Linked DNA regions of Homo sapiens: all the other regions are linked to region 1. Evidence: promoter capture Hi-C in 16 types of primary human blood cells and fetal thymus (Javierre and others, 2016). All regions are on one chromosome and are shown on one strand. Each heading gives the region's core, a stretch centred on a gene start or on the middle of the fragment in contact. The rest is flanking DNA. Distances are from core to core; before and after follow the strand shown.

Region 1 (3,896 bases), core at 1,024-3,523:
CTAGAATTGAAGGACTAGATTAAAAGAGGCTCTAGATTAAAAGAAATCTGCACAATGAGTAAAAAACCACGTGTATCAAGAGACATCATAATGAAAGTCCAGAATACTGGTAATAAGGAAAATATTCCAAAAGTTCTAGAGAGAGAAAACAAAGGATTAGGAATGATAAGGGCATCAAACTTCTTAACAAAGTCTAGACCTAGAAGACAATATCATCAAAATTCTGGAAGAAAAAGGTTTCCAATCTAGAATGCTATACCCAGATCAACTATCCCTCCACTGTGAGGGTAGAACTGAGACATTTAGACATATATAAGATCTTCTAAAATTCACTCTAAAATACCCTTTCTAAGGAAGCCACTGGTGAAGGTGCTCCTCCAAAATGGGAGAGTAAACCAAAAAAGAGAAAGGTATGGGATTCAGGTTCAGCACAGGTAAAGGAAATCCCCAGAAAGAGGGAGAAGAGAACTCCCAGAATGTGTGACGGCTTAGAGAGCAAAGAACTCAGGCTGTGAAAATAAATCGAGAGATCTTCAGGAGGGATGTCACCAATTAAAAGGAGGACCGATAGACTGAAATTCATGCTTGAGTATTTCAGAAGAAGATTTACACTCCTGGTTAAGAGTCTGGTGAGATTAGTTACAGAGACAACTAAGCAAACTAAAAAGCAAAACAAAAACAAACACCCCCCACCAAAAAACAAAACAAAACAAAACAAAAAAACTCCATGTAACTATTGACTCCTAGGAAACCCAAAAGTTGGAGAAGAAAAGAAATATAATTATTTTATGCTATGTGCTCAGATGTGAATATTTTACAGTCATAATAATGTAAATAATGAATAAAGATTTAACTAAAAATGATAATATAGGTAAACTGGCAGAATGAGGAGGGGAAATGTGGGTGGTGAAGACTGAAGACAGATAAAGCTAGTCCTTATCTTCTATACTGTAGTTGAGCATTAATAGAAAATACGTAAAAATGAAAGACAAATAAGCATGTTATTTATACATATGAAGTTAAAGACCAGATGAAACAGCTACATGAATTGGCAAATGACTGCTCCTGAGGAGCAGCACTCAGGGGCGGGGAGGAACAGCTTGGAGACTGCTGTTATTCATAAACCTTTTTAAAAACCTTTTTTTTTTTTTGGAGACAGGGTCTCACTCTGTCACCCAGGCTGGAGTACGGTGTCATGATCAGAGCTCACTGCAGCCTCTACCTTCCAGGCTCAAGTGATCCTCTCACTTCAGCGTCCCTTGTAGCTGGGACCACAGGTGCGTGCCACCACACTTGGCTAATTTTTAAATTTTTTTGTAGAGATGGGGTCTTGCTATGTTGCCCAGGCTGGTCTCAAATTCCTGGGCTCAAGTGCTTCTTTCGCCTCAGCCTCCCAAAGTGCTGGGACTACAGACATGAGCTACTGCGCCCAGCCTTAGAAAACTTTAATTAAAAAACAAAAAGTCTTACAACTATTATGTATCCATAATAATTAAAAATTTTAAAATTAAAAAATAAAGTTCAAAAATTTATGTCATTTTGATATAAATAAAATTTAAATCAAAAGATAATGTGCTCTTTTTATTTTTATTTATTATTTACTTATTTTTGAGATGGGGTCTTGCTATGTTGCTTAGGCTGGCCTTGAACCCTGGGCTCCAGCCCTCTGATCCTCCAGCCTCAGTCTCCTGACTATACTGCTGGGACTGCAAGCTTGCATCACTCCATCAAGTACTGTTTTTAAAATGTCCTTATTCTGAATAAGGCTTTGGCGTTAGAAGTTTTGTAATAGCTCTTCCAAGGTAAGTGTGAACGGTGACTTAATCTTTTGTTATTATTTGTGTCCAGCTTCCTCACCTGATAGAGCAGGCACTCAACAAATACATGATGACATATTTTTAACAACCAATATGTGCGTCCCTGCCCCTGGCTCCATAGATTTGCAAGATTTGTGTGTCCATTCATAAGCCTTCCAAACGCAGGGCCTGCTTGCTGCCCTCTTTGCTCTGTGGGGCCCAGATGGCAGCCCCGGAGGCGCTGGTGGGAGGCTGTGTCCTGGGGTCCACCACTGCTCCCCGGTAAGCCAAGCCCGACTGCCCCTACATGGAAAATTCATCCCTCCTCCAGATGGGGGATTCAGGGCACCGCCACTTCCCACAACCCCGGGAATCTCCCTGGCCACAGTCCTGGCGGGACCCCCCCCATCCCCAGCTCACTGTGACAGAGTCCCCTGCACAGTCCTGGGACGGCTCCAGGTCGAAGTCCTGGAAGACGAGCCTCACAGCAAAGCCCTCTGGAGCCTTGATGTCCGTGCTGCTCTCTTGGCCTTTGCCATACGGCTCTGGGTACCCGGGGGATGTCAGCTGCTGGGGTAGCTCTTGGGCCAAGAGGACGGAGCCCCGGGTTGGGCAAGCCTGGAGGACTCCCCAGAGAAGCAGCCACCACCTGTGAGTTGGGGGGAGGGCAAGGTGGGGCCGCGCAGCTATGGCCGGAAGCCTGTGGGTGTGGGAGGAGCGGGGGAGCCGCGCTAGGACTCAGAGGCCTCGCGAGGCAGGGCTAGAAGCTGTGGCCTCACCCTTGAGGCCCGGGCACTTCCCGTCTCCTCCCTTGCTCCCCTTCCTCACCCCAATCCCTACAGCCTCCCGCGCAGCCTGAGCTCTAGGATTGTGGGTTTTCCATCCTCCGAAGACATCACCTTTGCTCATCTCCCAGGAGAGTCTCGTCCAAAGGAGGGGGGTGCTTTCTGCTTCAGCAGATCCCACCCCACCCTGGGATCCGAGGGAGCAATGGTGGGGCGAGTGAGGGTCTGCCGTAAATATCCCCCGACCACCCTCTGGGAAGGTGCTAGAGGCCACAGGCAAATTTCAGTCTCCCCATGGAATATCTGCTGTGCTGCTGCTGCTGCTGCTGCTGGTGTGTGTATGTGGGGGAGGTGTGTGTGTGTGTGTGTGTGTGGGGGGGGGGGGGATGTGTGTGTGGGGGGGGTAGGGTGGGGGGAGGGAGGGTTTGCGGCCACCCACCCTTTCTCTTCCCCTCCCGTCCTCTTCCCTCCTCCTCTGCCGGGGCCACACTCACATTGCGCCTGGACAGCCTTTGGAGTGAGGGCTTCTCCAGAGATATTTCCCCCACACTCTGGGTCCAGGCATCTGGAACTGGACATCTGGGACCTGCGAGAGAACTGGCCCAGGATAGGGAACAAAAGGTGAAGGCCGGTGGGGGAGGAGGAAGTTCCTGGAAATGTTAAGCAACTCCACAGTTCCCCTTCTCCAATTCTCCGGGCTGAGCGCCACCTGCCGTCTGACTCAGGAACAGCGGGCCCGCCGCAGCTTAGGGGAGAAACGTCCAAAAACCTCGCTGGCCCTCAGAGGTCAGGGTGGCAGGGCACTGACTCGACCCTTTTGTACTATTTAACATTAATTTTTGCCATGTGTGTAGGATGGCTCCTTGTGAGTTATGGCTGCTGCCTTCAATCAGCCATGTCTCTTCCTCCCCGACCTTTCCGTTCACGACATACCCGGGGAGCCTCCCTCTTGTAGAATTGAAGTTTGTGATCCTTGAACTTGAGCTTTCTCTTCCTTTCCCTCCTCCCCAAGCAGGGGTGGGGGACATGCGCTTAGGTGGTCTTTTGAATCCTATTCACAACCTCTGGAGGCTGCTTGTCCAGCATGGTCAGGGCTGGGGTCGAGCCCAGGTGTCCCTCAGTCCCTAGTCCCAGTCATCACTCAAGCCGTCACTCAAGCTTCTTTAGGCAGATACTAGAGCCCCTGCCTGCTCTCACCGCTCCCCGAGGAAGGACACTCACCCACAGCTTGGTAGGAGGCCAGAAGGCTCTTATGGAGATGGGTGGTCCCATCCTCAGAGAAGGCAGGTGTGTGGAAGGCCTTACGTTGTATGCA
Region 2 (3,896 bases), core at 733-3,232, 960 kb after region 1:
AGCAAGTCAACAAAATAATAAAAAAGAAGACATGGGCTGGGCACAGTGGCTCACACCTGTTATCCCAGCACTTTGGGAAGCCAAGGCAGGCAGATCACCTGAGGTCAGTTTGAGACCAGCCTATCCAACATGGAGAAACTCTGTCTCTACTAAAAATACAAAATTAGGTGGGCATGGTGGCACATGCCTGTAATCCCAGCTACTCAGGAGGCTGAGGCAGGAGAATCGCTTGAACCTGGGAGGCAGAGGTTGTGGTGAGCCGAGGTTGCGCCACTACACTCCAGCCTGGGCAACAAAAGCAAAACTCCATCTCAAAAAAAAAAAAAGAAGAAGAAATTATTCTCATTCCCCTTTCCATGGCCTTGTCTACTCAGATATTTAAATACTATCACGGTACCCCCCTAAAATATTGAGAGAAGAATAGAGTCATGGGATGCTAGGGCTGAAAGAAAACTTGGTAATCATCTCTCCTCTCCTCATTTTGTTGTTGTTGTTGTTGTTTGTTTGTTTGTTTGTTTGTAGAGATAGGGTCTTGCTATGTTGCCCAAGCTGCTCTCAAACTCCTGGACTCAAGCAATCCTCCCATGTTGGCCTCACAGTGTGCTGGGGTTACAGACATGAGCCACTGTGCCCAGCCTACGTTTTCTCTGCTTTTATTTCTCAAGTTTGACAGTGAAACTCAGCAAATTAGATTACAAGCATATAATCATTACTAGGGAGGTTCTTGGATTTCAGGTCCGAGGACTGTTAGGCAAATGCTGTTTTTACTACCAAAAAAAAAAAAAAATCACATTAAAAAAAAAAAGATATATGGTATTGCTAATAAAGGGGAAGCTGCCGAGAACTGCATGAACTGAAGTAGCAGGGACTGCAAACAGCAAAATTTTAATAAAAATAGAGTTATCTGTCATGAGCTATATGTTAAATATTGTTATTATCTGTTTTGAAATGAAAGTATGTAGGAGTCAGGGATTAAAAGTCCTTTAGAACAAGGCTGGGTGTGGTGGCTCACGCCTGTAATCCCAGCACTTTGGGAGGCAGAGGCGGGTAGATCACCTGAGGTCAGGAGTTTGAGACCAACCTGGCCAACATGGTGGAACCCTGTCTCTACTAAAAATACAAAAAAATTTAACTGGGTGTGGTAGCACGTGCCTGCAATCCCACCTACTCAGGAGGCTGAGGCAGGAGAATCGCTTGAACCTGGGAGGCGGAGGTTGCAGTGAGCTGAGATCATGCTACTGTACTCCAGCCTGGGCAACAGAGTGAGACTCTGTCTCAAAAAAAAAAAAAAAAAAAAAAAGTCCTGCAGAGCAAGATTACTTTTTACATTTCTTCAAGTTAATTTGGCTAAAAATACCATACCTTTATGTGTTTAAGATTAGTAGAGGATTAAAAAAAATTATTACTAAGTTGACCAGCCGTAATTTAAAGGTAATTAATATCCTGAAACTAAAATTCCACTGTGATAGAGAAAGAAAAGTGGACCCCAGAATCAAATTGTAGTAATAGGATAACAGAGTCAGTAGCAATAAGGAATGGGCAAAAGAATAAAAAAAAGAAAGAGGAAATGGAAAGGGAAAAAAAGTGCAATCAATTATTTGAAAAACAAATTAATGGGGACAGCTGGAATCAAAGTTCAGGGTGAAATACATAGCCAATTCAAAGAAAGGAAAGAAATGATGTAAAAATTCACTATTAATTCCACTATGAAAATATTAAAAGCAAAGACAAATGCAATGTGGAATATTTAGAAAAAGGAAGTTAGACATAGAGATAAGATAAAAGAATTCAAAGTCAGAGAAGGAATAGGGGAAATAGAAGATAGTGACACTCAAACTCATTACCTATAATGAGCAAAACAGGCTAAGCACAAGTCATCAGGTAGGTCTAGGTTTTCTTACCAAAAAACTGAGACAGTAGCTGAAGGCTTCAGCACCTGGATGTCTCCACGAGTCCTGTCTGGTCCCCACACTTAGCCACAGTGAAGTCATGAAGTATGGCAAGAAAATTTGCTGAGCTTTCTCTTCTTCTGTTCTCTCTCTGTTTCCGGCAATAAGTTAAGTCTTATGCTCTAGACCACTATCTGACCTCACAGGAAGAGTTTCAAAGTGAGTCATTTCTAAATGGCTTAGAAAGGCAAAGCAGGAAAACAGAAGTAGGAGTTTATAATCCTGAGACATTTTCTGCAGCACACAGAGAATGGTTAGAGAGAGGGTACCTCTGTACATAGGGTTCAACTTTATAGGTTTTGTTTAGAAATGAAAAAAAAAAGACTCTATGAGATGTGAGGGTTGGAGTGGGGAGTGGTTGGGGAGGAATGACCTGAATAAACTCATTTAATTAATCTCAAATAACATATCTGAAATGCTTGATATATGTGAAAAACGGTGCCATGTCAAAATCAGGATGAATTAAGCTATATTCTAATCTCCAGAGATTCACAATCGAGTGGGAATATGTACCCATACATATACACACAAAGCTGTAATACAAACTAGGCTATAATAATAGAAGTAACAATAGAAGTAAAATAATAGAACACTCTAGCCAGGGGTATATATAACCCAGGGCAATCTAGGAGAGTCTTAAGATAGAAATAAGATGTGGGCAAGTACTTAATTAAGTACCTGTAGGAATTCTAGAGACAGAAAAAGGTGAAAAGCTGCTTAGGCTATAAGTGGAGCCTAGTCAAAGGCAGGTAGGTGGTAGAGGGCAGGTAGGTGGGGAGGTAGGTGGGAGAGCTTAGTGGTCACTGGAGAACAGGCTGGAGTCTAGGTGCTGTTTCATCAGGAAGGAGTACAGAAGACTGAAGGTAATTCCTGCTTAATGAATACTATGCTGTAAATAATTCTTATATTATTCTTTTAGATATATGCATATACTCTTTTAGATATATGCATATAAAATAAAGTTTATTTGGGTCAAATGTATTTGAACACTGTTGTCTGTGATATAGGCTTCAGTCTATATTAATCAACTTGTCCAAACCATAATATCTGCTCCTCTGCTTGTTTGCAGTCAAGTCACCACGGAATATTTTTGAGGCAGAAAGATCAAAAGAAAAATGCCAAGAGTTGAGTAGTATTTATTAGTTTATTTCCATTGTCATCATCTAATTACAAAAATAGAACATACTTTGTTCTAGAAGAGATAAATTGAAATAATACAGAATTATAATGGGTAAAAAAAATGAAAGATTTTCTTTTCAATTCCACTGCTCGAAGTAACTATTTTTAATAGGTTAGTGTTCATTCTTCCTGATTTTTTTTTTTCTGAATATAGCACACATTTTGTTTGTTGGAGACAGGGCCTCAGTCTGTCGCCCAGGCTGGAGTGCAGTGCCACCATCTTGGCTCACTGCAACCTCTGCCTCCTAGGTTCAAGCAATTCTCCCACCTCATCCTCCTTAGTAGCTGGGACTACAGGCATGTGCCACCACAACCGGCTAATTTTTATATTTTTTCGGTAGAGATGGGGTTTTGCCATGTTGGGCAGGCTGGTCTTGAACTCCTGAGCTCAGGTGATCCACCTGCCTCAGCCTCCCAAAGTGCTGTGATTACCGGTGTGAGCCACCCCACCCGGCCTAACACACATTTTTCTAAAAGGTAGTTTTGAACATAAATGGGATGGTAATTTATGTGTGATTTTATGTCTTGCTTTTTTACTTAACAATATATCAAAACATACTTCCATGTTAGTACATATAATCCTATTGATTATTTTGGGTTTTCTTTCCTCCAATATTTGGAAATATTGAATAATATAGGTATCCAGAAAGCATATAAAATGTAGGATTATCATATATGTACATATATATCTAATTAAAATATATTTTATAAAAACAATTAATTCCCCATGGTAAAAATTAAATATGAGAAGATTAAAGTAAAAACCAA
Region 3 (3,896 bases), core at 638-3,137, 830 kb after region 1:
CAGTCTGATCTGTACCCCAGACTCCACGGAAGCCCACTGGTGGTGGTGGAGGGGGTGGTAGTTTGTGTCTTCACTGCTGGGTGGCTCTTTGAGTCTCTTATCTCTCAGGACCATGTAACCTACTGGATCTACTCACTGCATCCTGGCCCCATTTCAGTCTTCGTTTATTAAATACAGTTCTGCTATCCCTAACTCCCGCGCAGGGGAAGAAAGTACTTACTCTGAACCCAACATATAAGGGCGAACCCAACATATAAGAGACATTTCTTAGTGGGGAGAACCGGTCATCTTCACCTTGCCTGGAATAATTCAGCCGGGCGAGACATTTTCCATTTCTACCTTGGGGCAGCTCAATTTTTATACCTGAGGCCAACTTCTACGCCATTCCCCCCCACCCCACCACCCAAAATCCCTTCAACCTTTCATATCTTAAACTCCTTTCCTTTCAGGTCGGGCAGATTAGGCAGCAGGCTGGGAGCTTCAGCAGGAGAAGTGACCTTGCCTGCAGCCTCCCAGATGTCTCAGTCCCAGCTAAGCATCGGTACCCCGGAGGGCCCTGCCAGTGCAATGCTCTGTTAAATCTTTTTCCGTTTAGTAAAAATCTCTTCTGTCTCCTCTCATCATTCACTATCTTTGAGAGCCTTTTCTTCTTTAGTCTCATAATTTTCCATCCCTTTCTTATTTTCCTACATTTTCTTTCTTTCTGCTTTGTAGAGATGGGATCTCACTATATTGCCCAAGGCTAGTCTCAAACTCCAGGCCTCATGTGATCCTCCTGCCTTGGTTTCCCAAATGCTGGGGTTATAGGTGTGACCCACCACACCTGGCCCCTTATTTTTAGTTAAATTTATCTTGGTAAAAAATGCCTTTCTTGCTGCGCGCAGTGGCTCATGCCTGTAATCTCAGCACCTTGGGAGGCCGAGGCCGGCGGATCGCCTGAGGTCGGGAGTCGAGACCAGCCTGACCAACATAGAGAAACCCCGTCTCTACTAAAAATACAAAATTAGCCGGGCCCGGTGGTTCATGCCTGTAATCTCAGCTACTCAGGAGGCTGAGGCAGGAGAATCGCTTGAACCCGGGAGGCGGAGGCTGTGGTGAGCTGCGGTCGCTCCATTGCACTCCAGCCTGGGCAACAAGAGTAAAACTCAATCAGAAAAAAAAGAAAAGCCTTTCTCCCTGCAAATAATGCATATACAACACTCAATATTTTAGTATGTCCTGCACTCACGATTTTAACCCTAATAGGAAGGACAACTGGAATTCTTTCTCCTTAGCATCCACGAACCCCATATGTTATAGGACAAACAGATGGCCAGACCCTGGCCTGTGCCTCCAAACACAGACCTTTTCAAGGTCTAATGCTTCCAGAGAAGTCTTCACACTGGCTCTGAGACCCACACTTGTAATCCATACAACCAAGCAGCCCGATCCTCTAAACACTCAACCATCTCGTCCTCAGTGGCATATGGTTACCTAAAATAAACCTGAGAAGCAAACACAACTTCTCCGGGTGACTTTCCTATGATAAGGTGAACAGAACTGTATGACATTCAAAGAGAACTGATGAAGCGGCAGCAGTGCAGGCTAGAGACGAAATGAAAAGGCCTTAAGATAGCTTGGTGACTTAGGAGAAAATAGAACAAGGAGATTACCATTAATATTTGCCTTTCTGAGTGTATCCCAAACAAGCAAAAATAACCAGTAATTATATCATTCTTACCTTCTGTGTCCCCATCGCTGTAATCTAATTCAAGTCTTCAAGAAAGATCTAGGGGTGATTCCAGAAACAGCTTTTTCAGCCAACAAAACCTTCAAAATGTCCTTCTCAGCAGCAAGTTTTCTCCACGTCCTCAGGAAGGATCCAAAGTCTTACCATTACAGCATCTCTGGGTCTCGCTGGGATCATGACTATTTATAATCTCCGCAAAGGGTGGAGCCTGAAAGGGCGACAAGCCCCCAGCCCCACCCCACCCCACCCCACCCCCCTGAAGCAATCTTGTGATCTCTCGGAATTCTGTGTTATCAGAACTACCCCCGCCCCCGCCCCACAGACAATAACGCCCTCCCTCCCCCCTCTCTTAAAACCACATCCTTCCACTCTCTCCACCCTGGGTTTTTTTTTTTTTTTTTTTTTCAAAAGCTCATCCTTACTCCTTCCCTCTTCTAATAGCAGCTAGAGCCTCTTAGTTTCACAGACAAAATACTACCAGAAAAGCCTGGAGGGAGGGCAAATACACTATTTTATGCTCTCGCATCTGCTTGGGATTAAAACAATCTACAGAGAGATTAGAATAAATCTATCCATACAAAACGAAGTCAAGTGGGTGCTACTATCAGAGATTTAAGGTTGTTAGAAAGAGTGTTAGTAAGAATTCTTGATCCTATGAATTTATAGGCTGGGTCTACAATCTTTTTTTTTTCTTTTTTTTTTGAGACGGAGTACACAATCTTAAAGGGGAGGGAAAGACAGCCTGAGAGAAGAAAATCAGGGAAATAATTTTGCCAGTGTTCCTTTCTTCGCATAATCTCACCTGGAGGGAAGAAAATCTGAATTTCTAGGAGCCAGACCAACTATCAGGGCAGTAGGAATAAGAGGTTCAACTGTTTATGGAATACAATCCATATCCTTTTTTTTTTTTTTTTTTTTTTTTTGATATGGAGTCTCTCTCTGTCGCCCAGGCTGGAGTGCAGTGGTGCGATCTCGGCTCACTGCAACCTCCGCCTCCCGGGTTCAAGCAATTCTCCTGCCTCAGCCTCCCGAGTAGCTGGGACTATAGGCGCCCGCCACCACGCCCCGCTAATTTTTGTATTTTTAGTAAAGACGGGGTTTCACCATATTGGCCAGGCTGGTCTCAAACTCCTGACCTTGTGATCTGCCCGCCTTGGCCTCCCAAAGTGCTGGGATTACAAGTGTGAGCCACCGCGCCGAGCCCTATATTTAATAAGGCATTTGCCATATCACCCATTCTGAATTCTGCATCACTTTCTGCTAGTCTCAAGCTTATAGCATCTAGAAATGCAATAAATACCGAATTCAATTAAGCAGGTATTTGCCGAATACACGCTATGTATCAGGTACTCTCCAAGAAGCTGGTGATTCTTCAGTGAATAATAGAAAAAAAGGCCGGGCGCGGTGGCTCACGCCTGTAATCCCAGCACTTTGGGAGGCCGAGGTGGGCGGATCACGAGGTCAGGAGATCAAGACCATCCTGGCTAACACGGTGAAACCATTCTCTACTAAAAATACAAAAAAAAAAAAAAAAAAAAAAAAAATTAGCCGGGCATGGTGGCGGGCGCCTGCAGTCCCAGCTACTCGGGAGGCTGAGACAGGAGAATGGCGTGAACGCGGCAGGCGGAGCTTGCAGTGAGCCAAGACAGCGCCACTGCACTCCAGCCTGGGCGACAGAGCAAGAATCCGTCTCAAAAAAAAAAAAAAAAAAGAATAATAGGACAAAAGAGTTCTGACCCACAAGTCATTTATAGTGTTTCCCTTCTTCCCTTTTTATAAAGTATAAAAAGGGACTAGGGCAAGTAATTCTCACATAACTGGAAAAGATTATTAATATCCTATTAGTTATGGACTGTGAGTTTCTTGAAAGAAAAGTGTTACATAAGTATCTGATTACTAAGCTATACAAGAAAACTGAACAAGCTAAGCAGGAGAAGAAAATAGGAATGAGAACTGAGGGAGGGATAATCGGGGAGAGAGAAGAGTGGTTCCAGGTTGAGAGTAAACAAAGCAAAACAACTTGGTTTGTGTTTAAACAGCTGGGTAAGTGAGAGATAGTATCTAGGCTTTTTTGGAGGAGGAATATCAACTATCAAATTCCTAATGCCCATTCATTTGTAGCTTGCAACCCTTTCAGTACTGGAGGTGGCAGGGTGGGTGAAGGACG
Region 4 (3,896 bases), core at 556-3,055, 660 kb before region 1:
CTCACCAGAAGTGGATGCAAAGAGTGCTGGAGATGAGCTCATTCTATTTGCCTAGGAAAGAAAAACGTCCAGAAACCTGGCCTTCCTCCTCTTGGCCGAGGCCCTCCAGGAAAGCCAGGCAGACCCTGCTCCTGCTCTGACCCCCTGGAGAAGTGATATGTAGAAAAGAGGAGATGGGCTTTGGCCCAGAGGACAGCAGCGTTAGGCTAGTGAGCAGTTCCCAGTCGGTTCAAGGTTGCTAGGCTCAGCGAACTGCAAGTCCCTGTTCGACAAGTTTCTTCCTAAAGGTCCCCAGTTCCTCATGATTCTTCTGAGGGTCTCATCCACCCTCCCAGGGCCTGCAGTCAGCTAGCCACCCCACTGCCCCATGCCTGCAGTGAACACATTTACCACAACCTGGAAATGGCTGGTGACAGAAAAGTCCTCACGGCCACAACACTCTCTGCGGTGGGAATTCAGGTGCCTTGCCTGATGGTGACAAAGCTGGTTTTGCATAAACAGCTCTCTGAATCACACCCAAATGTGGCTTCTGACTTGAGTGGACCCCCATGAAGAGCTGCAGAGGGGGCTGGGAAAAGACAAGAGAATGGAGAAAATGAGGAGAAAGGAAACTACAGAGTGAGATAGAGAACAGATCTGACAGGTGTGACCACAGCAGTGTGACATTTATGAACAGTGTGGAAACAACGGCAAAGCCCCTAAATTAAAAACTTCCTGGGGAAATAAGCCACTCCACATATCGGTTGCTGAGGAAAGAGTGGAGGAGGCTGTTGACCCGTGTGTGTCCCCATGACTCAAAGAGGGAAAAGTCTAGCTGTTTCCAATATCCCGAAATCAGTCTTGCTGGGAGAACTGGGAAAATAAAAAAGAGATGACCCCCGTAGGAAGCTACCTTTAATCCCAAGTGCCCAAGGCTAGGAGAGAAGATGCTCCAGGCGATCCAGGACACCAGTGACTGACACAGCCAGAGGTGGGAAAGGGGAGGATAAAGATGGCACAAAAGTGAGGAGTGAGCAAGGGTCTGAGAGGGAAGGCCATGTGGGCAGTAGGTGGCACCCACATCAGAGACTGACATGAGGATTAAAGGAGAGCATAGGTGATCGGTCAGAGTGTGACAGAAGAGAGGCAGCTCTACACCCCTTGCTTGCAATTCTGAGCATTCTGTAGCAAACTCGTTTGGCCATCAAACCAGACCTCAATTGAGACAAGGCTATTTAAGCTTCCTCCCAGTTGGTGTAAATATTCAATAGTTTTGCTGCAGAAATGTTGCGTTTGATTATGAGACTACCCCAACTCCCCAAGGGTGTTTTGTGGTGCTGGTTTCTGTATAAACCTGAAAAATTCTGAATTCCAAAACTTATCTGACCCCCAAAGTTTCAGATAAGAGCTTGTGGACCTGTGCTCAATTCTGGTTCTCCTTCCTTCTTTCAACTGTTGTCTGTGAAAGGAGGGATGCAGGTATGGGAGACAGGAGTCCTGCGAATTCGTCTGTAAACTGTGGACGGGGGGGTGGGTGGGGGGGGGTAACGTGGGCACCTTTGTGCACAAGTGCATGAATAGGAGGGGTGAGCAACTGTGTGTCCATCACCTTTTTGTCAAAGAAGCAGGAGTCAGTGGGCTACGTGCTTCATGAGCAGGAGAGGCGGAAACTAAGGAAGGCTCATGTGTTGGAGGAAGCATGTTTGAAGAGCAGCAGGTCTCACAGAGTTTGCTCTTTAATACTCTCCCCAGCACACGGAAGGGGAAGGGGGTGGAGGTTGCTGCTATGAGAGAGAAAAAAAAAACAGCCACAATAGAGATTCTGCCTTCAAAGGTTGGCTTGCCACCTGAAGCAGCCACTGCCCAGGGGGTGCAAAGAAGAGACAGCAGCGCCCAGCTTGGAGGTGCTAACTCCAGAGGCCAGCATCAGCAACTGGGCACAGAAAGGAGCCGCCTGGGCAGGGACCATGGCACGGCCACATCCCTGGTGGCTGTGCGTTCTGGGGACCCTGGTGGGGCTCTCAGCTACTCCAGCCCCCAAGAGCTGCCCAGAGAGGCACTACTGGGCTCAGGGAAAGCTGTGCTGCCAGATGTGTGAGCCAGGTAAGAGGGGGCCTTGGTAAGGGCCAGGTGAGTGGCGAAAGAGAGAGGACTGGGGTTAATACAGTAAATAGGCGCAGGGTGAGACTGAGCTCAAGCAAGGAGGGAAATCCTGCAGCTGTGGGGAGGCACCACCTTGAAGAGGGCAGAGAACCAGCCCTTCTCAGGCCTTGATCCCTTACCCTCTCCTCCCAGGAACATTCCTCGTGAAGGACTGTGACCAGCATAGAAAGGCTGCTCAGTGTGATCCTTGCATACCGGGGGTCTCCTTCTCTCCTGACCACCACACCCGGCCCCACTGTGAGAGCTGTCGGCACTGTAACTCTGGTGAGGTGGGCAAGGGTGTGTAGGTGGGGACGATGGACAAGCATCTGGGGGAGCAAGGCTGGTGACGGGTTTGGGGGTGCAAGGAGGATGACGGGGCCAAAGCTTTGGCCTTCTTCAAGGCTCACAGCAAGTGGAGCCAATGCTGGGAAATGCGGCACCCTAGGTGGGGCATGAATTAACGTGGGCAGACATCTAGTATTCCAGGAAAGGGATAAATAGAATTTGAGGGATTGGTGAGAACGGGTCTATGGATAGGATCAAGACAATAAAATGAGAGAAGTGGCTCTATGACCCCAGATTTCGGGCAAGCAACCCCCAACCAATAAACTGACTGTGTTCCCAGAGTGCACATGTGCAGGTTGGCCATTGGGAATTTGGAATACATCTTTCTAAGGAAATAACAAAGCAACCCAATAGGTAACAACCTTTTTTTGCACAAAAGCCAATTTGAGAAAATGAGTATGTATGTAGCCTGTGTTTTTATTTTATAGTTCCAAAAAAAAAGGTTTTTTTTAAACTAAGAAGTATAATATCTGCAGTTGTGCTTATGAATGCTGTTATTATTTCTCCATCTTCGCTACAATTTCAGAAACTACGGCCAGTATACACTAGAATAGCAGGCTTTAAAGTGGCCCCTTTGAACAAATGTTCTCTAGCAAGACACTTTTTAGAACCAGGTAACTGTAACTATTAAACTACCTACTTGCAAAACGTGTTTGGTGTCACTGGGTCTCTTGGTACTGGGTTTTGTTTTGTTTAGTTTAGAGACAAGGTCTAGCTCTGTCACCCAGGCTGGAGTGCAGTGGTGCAATCATAGCTCCCCACAGCCTTGAACTCCTGGGCTCAAGCAATCTTCTAGTCTCAGCCTCTGAAAGTGCCAGGATTACAGGTGTGAGCTGTAGTGCCTGGTCCCGTAAAAACAAAAACAAAAACCAACACCAGATGTGGTGGCTCATGCCTATAATCCCAGCACTTGGGAGGCCAAGGCAGAAGGGTATTTGCATATTTTGTAGAGACTTGAGCCCAGGAGCTTGAGACCAGCTGGGCAACATAGTGAGACCTTGTCTCTAAAAAAATTGGCTGGTCATGGTAGTGCACCTGCAGTCCCAGCTACTTGGGAGGCTGAGATGGGAAGATCACTTGAGCCCAAGAGGTCCCCAAGAGGTCCAGGCTGCTCACATCACTGCACTCCAGCCTGGGTAACAGAGCAAAACCCTTTTTCACACACACACACACACACACACAAAAAGCCAGAGCAGTGGCTCACACTTGTAATCCCAGCACTTTAGGAGGCCAAGGCAGGCGGATCCCTTGAGCCCAGGAGTTTAAGAACACCCTGGGCAACATGGCAAAACCCTGTCTCTACTAAAAATACAAAAAGTTAGCCAGGCGTGGTGGCACGAACCTGTAGTCCCAGCTACTCAGAAGGCTGAAGTGAGAAGATCACTTGAGTCCAGGAAGTGGAGGCTGCAGTGAGCCGTGACTGTACC
Region 5 (3,896 bases), core at 745-3,244, 640 kb before region 1:
ATTCTGTACCACTCAAAGTTAGTGTGTGGTCTTCAAGACAAACTCCTCTCCATGTCCCAAAACATGGAGGCTAAACTCACCTCCTAAAGAATTCCCAGAAGTATAACCTAAGTCATGAGATGTTCTCGGCCAAGGAAGCACCCACAGGCAGGGGGGAGATCTCTCAAATTTGATGGAGAATAGAAATTACAGTAAGAACTCCTCAAACAGAAGCAGAATCTCACCAAACATACTTCACAGGAGCAGTCCAAGAGTAAATGCAACAAAAATGAAACCACAAAGTCACCTAAAAGGAAATTATTTGACTAATTACAATAGAACTAATACCCAGAAGCTCATTCTCCTTGATTAAGTGAATTTCTTTTAGTCTAAAAAGATAGAGAATAACTCCTCAGAGAGGCTATGGTAGCAGATTACACCTGACTCATTCCCCATTTGAAGAATCACTTTTCCATTTCCCTCTAAGGTGCAAAGGAGGTAAAGCAAAGATAGACACAAAGTCATGGGAGCCACAAGACTCTTGTCCTGCCACTGAGCTAGCTAAGCAATCTAGCTCTCGACTTAAGGCAGAAAATTCAATGAGTAGGTAGCAGCCAGTGTTGGAAGCAGTCCAGGATGGTAGCACCAATGACAAGATTAAGGTCAGAGACCTCGTGATGCCCCGCTAGCCACCACGATTTTTCTGTTGCCTTCTGTTCATCCCACGTAGATACTATCTGGAAGCCCCCTCCCCAAAATGAAAACAACTGGAATTCTACGGCTTGCCCAAAATGCATAGAACACTCATATCTGGTTAAAACCATAGAAATCAAAAAGAAAAAGTGAAATGGCTATGAAGTATTTGCAAGGCCAATTTCACTTACTACTTGTTGGGAGTTGGAAACACTCAACAGTAAAATATCTAGGGATAATTACAACCCTTATGTAACACAAGTAAATCTTTCCCTTTTTTGTCACTTAGAGAAGCAACATAAATACATCTAGGACCAGGCCAGGGTAGTAATCAGAAAGAAAAATCTGTATTAGACATATTGAGGTCTTGACAGAGAAGTACTTCGTTTGTTTAGCCGTAGTTTTCCCTCAAGATCATGCGAAGGGGGTGATGTTGAAGACTGCTGGAGACTAAACTGTGTGTGTTGGAGGAAAGGGGGAAAGCTCAGCTCTCCCTATTTCTCCTCCAACTATTTGGTAAGACTCGGTGATAGAAAAACATCTCCTATACGAATGGCCTTGGTATGAACAGCCGCTTGGGATGACAGGCCACTATCCCACTACCCCTTGAGTCTTTCTGAGCTGCTCACCTGGTGCCAGAGAACTGGCAGATAAGTTTCTGCAGCTTTGCTCACTGCCATGAGGGGGGCTAGACATCACACTTTGGGTGAGGGGTAAACAAATCCAGAGATTGTAGGGCAACATAAGTTACCAACTGGCAGTTGCACCCATGACTGTCTTTCCTGAGGCGCTGAGTAGTGATTTAGCCAGATGACAGAAATACCTTTCGAGTCCCCTGCCCAGTTGTCTCCATCCACCACCCCCAGCCCCCGCCCTCTCCGAGTCTCCACTATACCAAAACCAGAATGAGGCGCCACTCAGACGAGAGGAGAGGGTGCAATGATTGTGGGACCCCTGCGCCCCTGCCCCGCCCGTGGGGTGCTAGCTGTGGCTGGTGCGAGAATGGGGTGCTGGCCCCCCTCCCTGGGGGTGGCCCGGTCCGGAAGCGGCGCGCGGTGGTAGTTCCCCGCGTTGCTGCAGCTGCTGCATTGCGCCATTTTCCGTCCCGCAGAATCGGGAGCTTGGGGCGAGAGTTGTCAAGGAGGTGCCGAGCCCCCACACCAGAGTCAACTCACATTTTTCTGACAGAGAGAGTGAGGGTCTGTTCCTCTCCGGAGGCTGCGGCGAGACACCCGGTGAGGGACGCTGCGGCTGAAGTGGACGGAACTGCCAAGCTCCGCCTCGCGCCGACTACCCCGCGGTCTAGCTGCGCTGGAACTTACTGCAGCTGCCGCGCCGGCCTCCGCCTTTATTAGTGCTGACCACGCCTCCCGGATAACGGTGACAACCCCGCGGCCCAATCCATGCCCAGGACGGTCGCCCAGCGCTACAGGCCTAGCCCGCCCCGCCCCTGCCAATTGCCAGTCACAACTCTCCTCTCATCCGACTCCGGAAAGGAGCGGTTGCTGTGAGGATCCTTCAGTGATCAATGCGACCATAGTTTGCGCTCCAGTCTGGCGGAGGGACGGGGCGGGGTGGAGATGAGGTCTGTCCCTTCGGAGGGCGCTTCAGCAGTTTGTTAGGCATTTGTGGTGCCTCCCAACCAATCGCTAGGCAGTTACTGAAGACCGTGCCCGCCCCTGCCCCACCCCGCGCCGGGACTCGCGCATTCAGCTGGAGGCGGCGGCTTCCTGGTGCGCGCCCAGCCCTGGTGCCCTGCTCTGGCCCTCGCTCCGCACCACCGCCCCGCCTCTAACTAACGCTCTGAGAGGGTGCAGGAGCCTCGAGACACAGCCACAAGCTCCTGGTGCCAGATACCGGATGCGGGGTTCCGTCCCACCAAAGCAAGCACGAAGCTTTCGTTCATTCGTTTCTTTCAACATAGCCTTCCTAAATTGAACTCCCTCCCAAACCTGCTCCAGTCGAGGTTACCACATCGACTCAGTTGCCCAGACCAGAAACGTGGAAACCATCCTAGATTTCCTCCCCTTCACCTTTACCTCTCCCCCAGTAATCTGCCAAATCGAGTTGATTTTTCCTTCTTGGCATTCCAGTGATTATCTCCCCTCTGCTCACTATTATCCCTTTCCTGGACTCCATCAGTTGGAAAATTCACCATTATTTTATGTCCCGCTAAGAAAAAAGGTTACAAGGCCGGGCGCAGTGGCTCACACCTGTAATCCCAGCACTTTGGGAGGCCGAGTCAGGCAGATTACCTGAGATCAGGAGTTCGAGACCAGCCTGGCCAACATGGCGAAACCTCTGTCTCTACTAAAAATACAAAACAGCCAGGCATGGTGGCGGGCGCCTGTAATCCCAGCTACTCGTGAGGCTGAGATAAGAGAATCGCTTGAAGCCGGGAGCCGACGGTTGCAGTGAGCCGAGATCACGCCACTGCACTCCAGCCTGGGCAACAGAGCAAGACCCTGTTTCAAAAAAAAAAAGAAAAAAGGTTGCAAATTATCTGTGACAAATGCTTTCCTTACCACTTAGCATTTTTGTTTTACATGTATTGAAAATATGGGTTTATATACATACCGATTTCTATATTTCACTCTTGTGCATGCATAAAAAGGGAAATAGAAAACAATAACATGGTAACTATCCCTAAAACTTCACAGAGACTGATTGTTAATGATTCACTTTTTTGACTCAGTCTTGGATGTCCACTAATTTCCACGCAATGTAGTCCTCTGTGCATTTCATAAGGGCTTTGGTGATGCAGCATTTCCTAAGAGTGTTCCTCTCCAGGCTCTAGAGTTTTCTTCCAAGCCTCAGACACCCATTTGGCAAGCTTTGATGCTCATGAGCAGGTATGACAAATATAGTTTGACTGCTGTCTGACTAATAGCTAAAGTGAAACATCCCAATTAGAAGATATTGAAATGCAAAAAAACAAACAAACAAGCACACACAAAAAACCCAAGTGCCTCCTAAGATCAATGATACATCATTCTGCTTCCAGTCTTGCCATCCTTTACATCTATTCTCTAAAAAGTCCACCAAAGTTATCTATCCAAATGTCACAAGTCTTCTTAAGGAAACAATTGCACTTGGAAACATAATGCATTCATCATATGTGTTTATCCCATTCTCCTCCTGAAACCACATCAAAATGGCAAGTTAGGGGGAAAAATGACAATTTGGGAAAATTTGCAAAAAATTATAAGCCCCCAAAGACAAAA
Region 6 (3,896 bases), core at 967-3,466, 620 kb before region 1:
AACTCCTGGGCTCAGGTGATCTTCCCACCTCAGCCTCTTGTGTAGCTGGGACTGCAGGCACGCAGAACCATGAGTAGCTGGAACTACAGGCATGCAGAACCATGCCCAGCTAAGTTGTTTTTTTTTTTTTTTTGAGACAGAGTCTTGCTCTGTTGCTCAGGCTGGAGTGCAGTGGCACGATCTCGGCTCACTGCAAGCTCCACCTCCCAGGTTCAAGTGATTCTCCTGCCTCAGACACCTGAGTAGCTGGGACTACAGGTGTCCGCCACCACTCCTGGCTAATTTTTTTGTTTGTTTGTTTTTGTATTTTCAGTAGAGACAGGGCTGTGTTAGCCAGGATAGTCTCGATCTCCTGAGCTCGTGGTCCGCCCCCCTCCGCCTCCCAAGGTGCTGGGATTACAGGCAGGAGCCACCGCACCCAGCCACTTTATTTTTAGTAGAGACGGAGTTTCACCATGTCGCCCAGACCAGTCTCAAATTCCTGTCTCCAAGCAATCCTCCCACCTCAGCCTCCCAAAATGCTGGGATTACATGTGGGCACCATTCTGCCCAGCTGTAATTCTTAAAAATTATTATTAAAAAAGAACAAAACACATAGATGCCCTAGACTCAACTCAGCTCTACTGATCAATCTTTAGGGGTTAGGACTAGGCTTTTGAAATGTTAAAACACCCAGAAAACTGATGACCAGTCAGGCTTAGTATCCGCCATCTCTACCATTCATATGGTACTTAATGTTTCATATTTAAATGGAAAGGACACCTCACACTTTTTTGTTTTTCCTATAGTTCCTACTCAGAGAATATGCCTAATAAATATTTTATGAGAGTAGTACAGAAGTATGACTCCATTTTTCTCTTATATTTCATTTCAGTGTGGAAGGCTCTTTAGAAACACTATTAACATAACAGCATTATGTCAAAAAGCGCCAATAACATTCTCACCAACTTTTCTTTTTAAAGGAATTAGGTATAGCTAGACTGTAAAAGGCAAGTGGTGTGAAGCCCAAACCTAAGATCCTAAGATCTAGGATGAGTCAAGACTTCATAGTCTACATGAGTAGAGGCAGCATCTAGAGGAAAACAAAAGTATGTGGCTATCAAATTCCAAAGAAGCCCCATTTTATTACAGAGAAAATACAAAGCCGTTTCCTCACAGGGAAAAGTACAGTTTCCCTTCTCCAGGGTGACAGATGAGCCTTTTCCGAAGTTCTCAGCTTTCTCTTCTATCGAAACTTCCCATGTCGGTTAAAGTGTTTGTAGAGATAGCGGATGCGTTTATTAAGGTTGTGCAGGTCATCAGCGAACATTCTACTTCCAACCATTTTCCTCTTTCGGATACAACGTTGCAATTCATTCCCTTTCCAACCTCGAAGCCATATGGGCCCCCTGATCAGTTCTTTGGGGTGCTTTTCAAAGTTTCCTGTGTAATGTGAGAGAACACATTAGATCCAAGACAAGAGAACTCATCCTACACCAGCTAAGCTTTCAACCCACGGTTGCATCTTGCTGAGCAGCACCTATAGACAAGGAACATTACAGTACAGAACAATAGCACAGACTCTGGAGCCAGACTGCTTGGGGTTAAAATTCTGATGCTGCCATTTATTAACTTTGGAAAAACTGTTTATTTTTACTTATGAAGTAAAAATTATACGAGGGGACTCAGAACAGTGCCAAACACAATGTAAACAGCTACATAAGTGTTTGCTCTTACTATTGAGCACAGTACCACTCTCTACACAGGAGGAAAAGATAGTCGTTACAGCCTAATTGCCATTCTGAAATTGTGTACCACGTCGAAGGTCAAGTCTTACCCAGGATCCCGATGTTGTCATACACTCCGAACATGGCCCTTTTCTCGTTCCAACGATCAACCACTTTGGGGGGCGGGAGAGTGAGCCTTATACCGATCAATCTAGGCACACCTGGGGATGGGGAAGGGAGGGAATTAATCTGAGCCGCCTATTATACTACGAAGCAGTTATCGGGGTGCCTACATCAGCCACTTACCAAGAGAGAAGCTTCTGCACGCCAGAGGCACCCAGTCCCACAGGCGCCTACCTGCCCCGGATAAGAGGTTCCCTGCCATTTCTCTAGTCTCCCCCCTTCAACAGCACACCAAATAAGCCCAAGAAGATGACAGGAACCGTCCCCGCCAACTTCACACGAGTACTAAGGCGAAGACAGCCATCTTGGGCCTTACCCAGGCAGCTGTGGGCGCACCGCCCACCTACGCCCCATCCGCAACAGCCACGAGCCCCGCCCCCCGGGTTCCGGCAGGAGGGGCCTCTACCACCCTTCCCGCCTCAGTGCTTCCGGTCCGCCTGCCGGAAGTTTTGGAGCGCCGGACAAGCTGAGGTCCGCGACTCGTCGCTAAGATTCCCCAAAACTGAGATTTCAAGAAAATTCACCCTTTCCGCTTTCTTTGGCGTCCTTCAACCGTGAAGGAAATGAAGGTTGAGAACCTGGAACCCGCTTCCAATGACCAAGCCCTTTCTCTGTGCCTCACAACAGTCTTCCGCTGTAGCTGTTTTTATTACCCCTATTTTACTACTGGGGAGGAGATTTGAGGTCCTGAAAGTGAAGTGACTTGCTGGACGTCACTTAGCAGAGGAGATGGCGAAACCTGGATTAGAGGCGATGCCTTCTAACTCCCAGCGTGGACTTGCCTCCTTTCCTGGGGGTGACTGAATGCCCAGCCAGGGACGCGACGTCTCTGGCCAGCAGAAATACGGCCTCCTCCCCGCCGACTGGGCAAAGGGGGACCTTGCGGCCAAGGAGGGATTCGCAGGCGGGCCGGGGGTGGGAGCGGGGGCCGGAGCCGGAGCCTTGGCCCGCCCCCGGGCGGCGCTGTGATTGGCCGGCCGCTCCGGCGGGCGTCGCGATTGGCCGTCCTGCAGCCGTTGAGATTTGAACTCGGTATTTGTGGCTTTGCCCGCGCGTTGCCAGACTCAGAGGCGGCCCTTTGCCTCTGCCTGCCGGGGATTGGCCGGATTCTCCGCCGACTTGAAAACTGCCTTGCTAATTGGTGCGTGTTGTGCACGCGTGTTTTTTCCTTTTCATTTCAGCCTGACTGCCGGAATCAGAGCCGCGGGTGAGATCCCCAGGTAAGATGTGGTGTTGCAGGTCGTAAAAGAGTAGGAAAGTCGAGTACATGGCAGTGTGACCCAGTCTTGGGCAAAATACAATAGGCCTAGTAAGTATATCCCTGGGGCGCGATGTGTGAGAAACTGTAAGTCTGACAGATCCGCAACGGAAGTTGTTAAGCAAATCGCTTAACAGATCCGCAACGGAAGATGTTAAGCAAATCGCTTAACAGATCCGCAACGGAAGATGTTAAGCAAATCGCTTAACTTTCTTACTTCAATTTCCGCTCTGTAAACTCATTTGTATTATTATGCACCTCATGGGATTGAGGTTAGGATACTTAGATCAGATATGATACATGCAAACAGCCTAACAGACTTGGCACAGGATAAATAAATCATCATTGTTAATGCTCTTACCATTCTGGTGCAGGAAGCCCACTAGCCCATGCTGGGGCACTGTTTTGGCCTCAGACGAGATCAGACCATTCTCTCTATACTTAAGGAGCTTTGCACATAAAAATGGAAATAATAGTACTTTGCACATTAATATGCCACTTTATAGTTCTTTAAACACCTTCGTACTGCTTGATTTGTTTGATCATCAGAGCAACTTTGTGAAGTAATCAGAGTTTAGTAACCCTGTTTTTACAGATAAAGCCCAGAGGTTTAAGTGTCAAGACCAAGTGCCAAAGTCACTACTAGAATTAGTTTCTAGTCCAGGGTCAATCTCAGATCCCGTAAGATAATGTTACTAGCTTGCTATAAAACTAAAAACCATTATATATGTTGGGGGTGGGGAACTAAC
Region 7 (3,896 bases), core at 465-2,964, 570 kb before region 1:
CAGTAATGAAAAATGACAAGCATGAGGCAGAGGGGAAGATCACGCTTGGGTGGTGCAGGAGCATGGAGGTGCTCTTAATGCTCTCAATGAGAAAGGGTTAACGGTCCTGGTTGCAGGAATAGCTGAGTCAGAGGTGGGGCTTCCTCCACTCCCCCACCCCACCCCTTTCACCATTAGGGACCTTCTTGCCTTGCTCTTGCTACTCTGCTCTGGGTGGTCATTGTGAAAAGCCCGCACCAACCATGCCAGTGGCAGCCAGACGAGGACACAGCCTGGCTCTGGGTCCCAGCAGGAAAGGCAATCCCAGAAAGGCAGGGTCAGGGACTGGAGTCCTGTGGGTGCTTTTTAAGCAAAGATTATCACCAGGCAGGCTAAACTTAGCAACCGGCTTTTAGCTAGAAGGGCAGGGGGCTGGTGTCAGGTTATGCTGGGCCAGCAAAGAGGCCCGGGATCCCCCTCCCATGCACCTGCTGATGGGCCAAGGCCACCCCACCCCACCCCCTTCCTTACAAGTGTTCAGCACCCTCCCATCCCACACTCACAAACCTGGCCCTCTGCCCTCCTACCAGAAGAATGGATCCCCTGTGGGAGGGGGCAGGGGACCTGTTCCCACCGTGTGCCCAAGACCTCTTTTCCCACTTTTTCCCTCTTCTTGACTCACCCTGCCCTCAATATCCCCCGGCGCAGCCAGTGAAAGGGAGTCCCTGGCTCCTGGCTCGCCTGCACGTCCCAGGGCGGGGAGGGACTTCCGCCCTCACGTCCCGCTCTTCGCCCCAGGCTGGATGGAATGAAAGGCACACTGTCTCTCTCCCTAGGCAGCACAGCCCACAGGTTTCCAGGAGTGCCTTTGTGGGAGGCCTCTGGGCCCCCACCAGCCATCCTGTCCTCCGCCTGGGGCCCCAGCCCGGAGAGAGCCGCTGGTGCACACAGGGCCGGGATTGTCTGCCCTAATTATCAGGTCCAGGCTACAGGGCTGCAGGACATCGTGACCTTCCGTGCAGAAACCTCCCCCTCCCCCTCAAGCCGCCTCCCGAGCCTCCTTCCTCTCCAGGCCCCCAGTGCCCAGTGCCCAGTGCCCAGCCCAGGCCTCGGTCCCAGAGATGCCAGGAGCCAGGAGATGGGGAGGGGGAAGTGGGGGCTGGGAAGGAACCACGGGCCCCCGCCCGAGGCCCATGGGCCCCTCCTAGGCCTTTGCCTGAGCAGTCCGGTGTCACTACCGCAGAGCCTCGAGGAGAAGTTCCCCAACTTTCCCGCCTCTCAGCCTTTGAAAGAAAGAAAGGGGAGGGGGCAGGCCGCGTGCAGCCGCGAGCGGTGCTGGGCTCCGGCTCCAATTCCCCATCTCAGTCGTTCCCAAAGTCCTCCTGTTTCATCCAAGCGTGTAAGGGTCCCCGTCCTTGACTCCCTAGTGTCCTGCTGCCCACAGTCCAGTCCTGGGAACCAGCACCGATCACCTCCCATCGGGCCAATCTCAGTCCCTTCCCCCCTACGTCGGGGCCCACACGCTCGGTGCGTGCCCAGTTGAACCAGGCGGCTGCGGAAAAAAAAAAGCGGGGAGAAAGTAGGGCCCGGCTACTAGCGGTTTTACGGGCGCACGTAGCTCAGGCCTCAAGACCTTGGGCTGGGACTGGCTGAGCCTGGCGGGAGGCGGGGTCCGAGTCACCGCCTGCCGCCGCGCCCCCGGTTTCTATAAATTGAGCCCGCAGCCTCCCGCTTCGCTCTCTGCTCCTCCTGTTCGACAGTCAGCCGCATCTTCTTTTGCGTCGCCAGGTGAAGACGGGCGGAGAGAAACCCGGGAGGCTAGGGACGGCCTGAAGGCGGCAGGGGCGGGCGCAGGCCGGATGTGTTCGCGCCGCTGCGGGGTGGGCCCGGGCGGCCTCCGCATTGCAGGGGCGGGCGGAGGACGTGATGCGGCGCGGGCTGGGCATGGAGGCCTGGTGGGGGAGGGGAGGGGAGGCGTGTGTGTCGGCCGGGGCCACTAGGCGCTCACTGTTCTCTCCCTCCGCGCAGCCGAGCCACATCGCTCAGACACCATGGGGAAGGTGAAGGTCGGAGTCAACGGGTGAGTTCGCGGGTGGCTGGGGGGCCCTGGGCTGCGACCGCCCCCGAACCGCGTCTACGAGCCTTGCGGGCTCCGGGTCTTTGCAGTCGTATGGGGGCAGGGTAGCTGTTCCCCGCAAGGAGAGCTCAAGGTCAGCGCTCGGACCTGGCGGAGCCCCGCACCCAGGCTGTGGCGCCCTGTGCAGCTCCGCCCTTGCGGCGCCATCTGCCCGGAGCCTCCTTCCCCTAGTCCCCAGAAACAGGAGGTCCCTACTCCCGCCCGAGATCCCGACCCGGACCCCTAGGTGGGGGACGCTTTCTTTCCTTTCGCGCTCTGCGGGGTCACGTGTCGCAGAGGAGCCCCTCCCCCACGGCCTCCGGCACCGCAGGCCCCGGGATGCTAGTGCGCAGCGGGTGCATCCCTGTCCGGATGCTGCGCCTGCGGTAGAGCGGCCGCCATGTTGCAACCGGGAAGGAAATGAATGGGCAGCCGTTAGGAAAGCCTGCCGGTGACTAACCCTGCGCTCCTGCCTCGATGGGTGGAGTCGCGTGTGGCGGGGAAGTCAGGTGGAGCGAGGCTAGCTGGCCCGATTTCTCCTCCGGGTGATGCTTTTCCTAGATTATTCTCTGGTAAATCAAAGAAGTGGGTTTATGGAGGTCCTCTTGTGTCCCCTCCCCGCAGAGGTGTGGTGGCTGTGGCATGGTGCCAAGCCGGGAGAAGCTGAGTCATGGGTAGTTGGAAAAGGACATTTCCACCGCAAAATGGCCCCTCTGGTGGTGGCCCCTTCCTGCAGCGCCGGCTCACCTCACGGCCCCGCCCTTCCCCTGCCAGCCTAGCGTTGACCCGACCCCAAAGGCCAGGCTGTAAATGTCACCGGGAGGATTGGGTGTCTGGGCGCCTCGGGGAACCTGCCCTTCTCCCCATTCCGTCTTCCGGAAACCAGATCTCCCACCGCACCCTGGTCTGAGGTTAAATATAGCTGCTGACCTTTCTGTAGCTGGGGGCCTGGGCTGGGGCTCTCTCCCATCCCTTCTCCCCACACACATGCACTTACCTGTGCTCCCACTCCTGATTTCTGGAAAAGAGCTAGGAAGGACAGGCAACTTGGCAAATCAAAGCCCTGGGACTAGGGGGTTAAAATACAGCTTCCCCTCTTCCCACCCGCCCCAGTCTCTGTCCCTTTTGTAGGAGGGACTTAGAGAAGGGGTGGGCTTGCCCTGTCCAGTTAATTTCTGACCTTTACTCCTGCCCTTTGAGTTTGATGATGCTGAGTGTACAAGCGTTTTCTCCCTAAAGGGTGCAGCTGAGCTAGGCAGCAGCAAGCATTCCTGGGGTGGCATAGTGGGGTGGTGAATACCATGTACAAAGCTTGTGCCCAGACTGTGGGTGGCAGTGCCCCACATGGCCGCTTCTCCTGGAAGGGCTTCGTATGACTGGGGGTGTTGGGCAGCCCTGGAGCCTTCAGTTGCAGCCATGCCTTAAGCCAGGCCAGCCTGGCAGGGAAGCTCAAGGGAGATAAAATTCAACCTCTTGGGCCCTCCTGGGGGTAAGGAGATGCTGCATTCGCCCTCTTAATGGGGAGGTGGCCTAGGGCTGCTCACATATTCTGGAGGAGCCTCCCCTCCTCATGCCTTCTTGCCTCTTGTCTCTTAGATTTGGTCGTATTGGGCGCCTGGTCACCAGGGCTGCTTTTAACTCTGGTAAAGTGGATATTGTTGCCATCAATGACCCCTTCATTGACCTCAACTACATGGTGAGTGCTACATGGTGAGCCCCAAAGCTGGTGTGGGAGGAGCCACCTGGCTGATGGGCAGCCCCTTCATACCCTCACGTATTCCCCCAGGTTTACATGTTCCAA

The links. Contacts are between HindIII fragments. The CHiCAGO score rates a contact against its expected background, and 5 or more counts as called.
Region 2: the fragment with the promoter of C3AR1 here is called in contact with the fragment with the promoter of C1RL-AS1 in region 1 in 4 of 17 cell types (activated CD4 T cells, total CD8 T cells, non-activated CD4 T cells and 1 more); the score reaches 7.2 in activated CD4 T cells.
Region 3: the fragment with the promoter of SLC2A3 here is called in contact with the fragment with the promoter of C1RL-AS1 in region 1 in 15 of 17 cell types (monocytes, total CD8 T cells, erythroblasts and 12 more); the score reaches 16.5 in monocytes.
Region 4: a contact is called between the fragment with the promoter of CD27 here and the fragment with the promoter of C1RL-AS1 in region 1, in 5 of 17 cell types (activated CD4 T cells, naive CD4 T cells, non-activated CD4 T cells and 2 more). The highest score is 11.6, in activated CD4 T cells.
Region 5: a contact is called between the fragment with the promoter of VAMP1 here and the fragment with the promoter of C1RL-AS1 in region 1, in 2 of 17 cell types (activated CD4 T cells and non-activated CD4 T cells). The highest score is 7.5, in activated CD4 T cells.
Region 6: a contact is called between the fragment with the promoter of MRPL51 here and the fragment with the promoter of C1RL-AS1 in region 1, in 10 of 17 cell types (activated CD4 T cells, non-activated CD4 T cells, naive CD4 T cells and 7 more). The highest score is 15.1, in activated CD4 T cells.
Region 7: the fragment with the promoter of GAPDH here is called in contact with the fragment with the promoter of C1RL-AS1 in region 1 in 6 of 17 cell types (activated CD4 T cells, non-activated CD4 T cells, naive CD4 T cells and 3 more); the score reaches 9.0 in activated CD4 T cells.

The regions. Positions count from the first base shown.
Region 1 is chr12:7,106,035-7,109,930 of GRCh38, forward strand. C1RL-AS1 (C1RL antisense RNA 1) reads left to right here and starts at 2,274. Exons shown (of 12, transcript NR_026947.1): 1 at 2,274-2,447; 2 at 2,639-2,913. C1RL (complement C1r subcomponent like) reads right to left here and starts at 3,180. Exons shown (of 6, transcript NM_016546.4): 1 at 3,076-3,180; 2 at 2,217-2,445. The coding sequence starts at 3,146. RefSeq lists enhancers at 2,200-3,399, 2,232-2,401, 3,042-3,121. The HindIII fragment of the contact is 2,026 bases long and covers 1,712-3,737 here.
Region 2 is chr12:8,064,377-8,068,272 of GRCh38, forward strand. C3AR1 (complement C3a receptor 1) reads right to left here and starts at 1,983. Exons shown (of 2, transcript NM_004054.4): 1 at 1,902-1,983. The HindIII fragment of the contact is 7,875 bases long and covers 1-3,896 here.
Region 3 is chr12:7,934,300-7,938,195 of GRCh38, forward strand. SLC2A3 (solute carrier family 2 member 3) reads right to left here and starts at 1,888. Exons shown (of 10, transcript NM_006931.3): 1 at 1,721-1,888. The coding sequence starts at 1,735. RefSeq lists an enhancer at 1-949 and a silencer at 2,017-2,066. The HindIII fragment of the contact is 4,746 bases long and covers 1-2,998 here.
Region 4 is chr12:6,443,150-6,447,045 of GRCh38, forward strand. CD27 (CD27 molecule) reads left to right here and starts at 1,806. Exons shown (of 6, transcript NM_001242.5): 1 at 1,806-2,082; 2 at 2,275-2,406. The coding sequence starts at 1,947. CD27-AS1 (CD27 antisense RNA 1) reads right to left here. Exons shown (of 6, transcript NR_015382.2): 4 at 3,812-3,896; 5 at 397-568. RefSeq lists enhancers at 898-967, 988-1,037, 1,942-2,443, 1,988-2,047, 2,078-2,257 and 1 more. The HindIII fragment of the contact is 1,289 bases long and covers 1,218-2,506 here.
Region 5 is chr12:6,468,683-6,472,578 of GRCh38, forward strand. VAMP1 (vesicle associated membrane protein 1) reads right to left here and starts at 1,995. Exons shown (of 5, transcript NM_014231.5): 1 at 1,848-1,995. The coding sequence starts at 1,849. It also overlaps a transcript of TAPBPL not described here. RefSeq lists silencers at 1,477-1,526, 2,027-2,076, 2,287-2,546. The HindIII fragment of the contact is 5,218 bases long and covers 1-2,565 here.
Region 6 is chr12:6,491,046-6,494,941 of GRCh38, forward strand. It overlaps MRPL51 (mitochondrial ribosomal protein L51), which reads right to left and starts at 2,217. Exons shown (of 3, transcript NM_016497.4): 1 at 2,013-2,217; 2 at 1,817-1,927; 3 at 841-1,422. The coding sequence starts at 2,091. The coding sequence ends at 1,226. NCAPD2 (non-SMC condensin I complex subunit D2) reads left to right here and starts at 3,057. Exons shown (of 32, transcript NM_014865.4): 1 at 3,057-3,109. RefSeq lists enhancers at 2,435-2,484, 2,652-3,249 and a silencer at 2,685-3,014. The HindIII fragment of the contact is 4,003 bases long and covers 2,022-3,896 here.
Region 7 is chr12:6,532,803-6,536,698 of GRCh38, forward strand. GAPDH (glyceraldehyde-3-phosphate dehydrogenase) reads left to right here and starts at 1,715. Exons shown (of 9, transcript NM_002046.7): 1 at 1,715-1,767; 2 at 2,008-2,059; 3 at 3,692-3,791; 4 at 3,882-3,896. The coding sequence starts at 2,031. It overlaps GAPDH-DT (GAPDH divergent transcript), which reads right to left and starts at 1,605. Exons shown (of 2, transcript XR_002957397.2): 1 at 662-1,605; 2 at 1-341. RefSeq lists enhancers at 1-720, 721-1,494, 1,495-2,268, 3,817-3,896 and silencers at 897-1,146, 1,867-2,006. The HindIII fragment of the contact is 4,237 bases long and covers 1-3,404 here.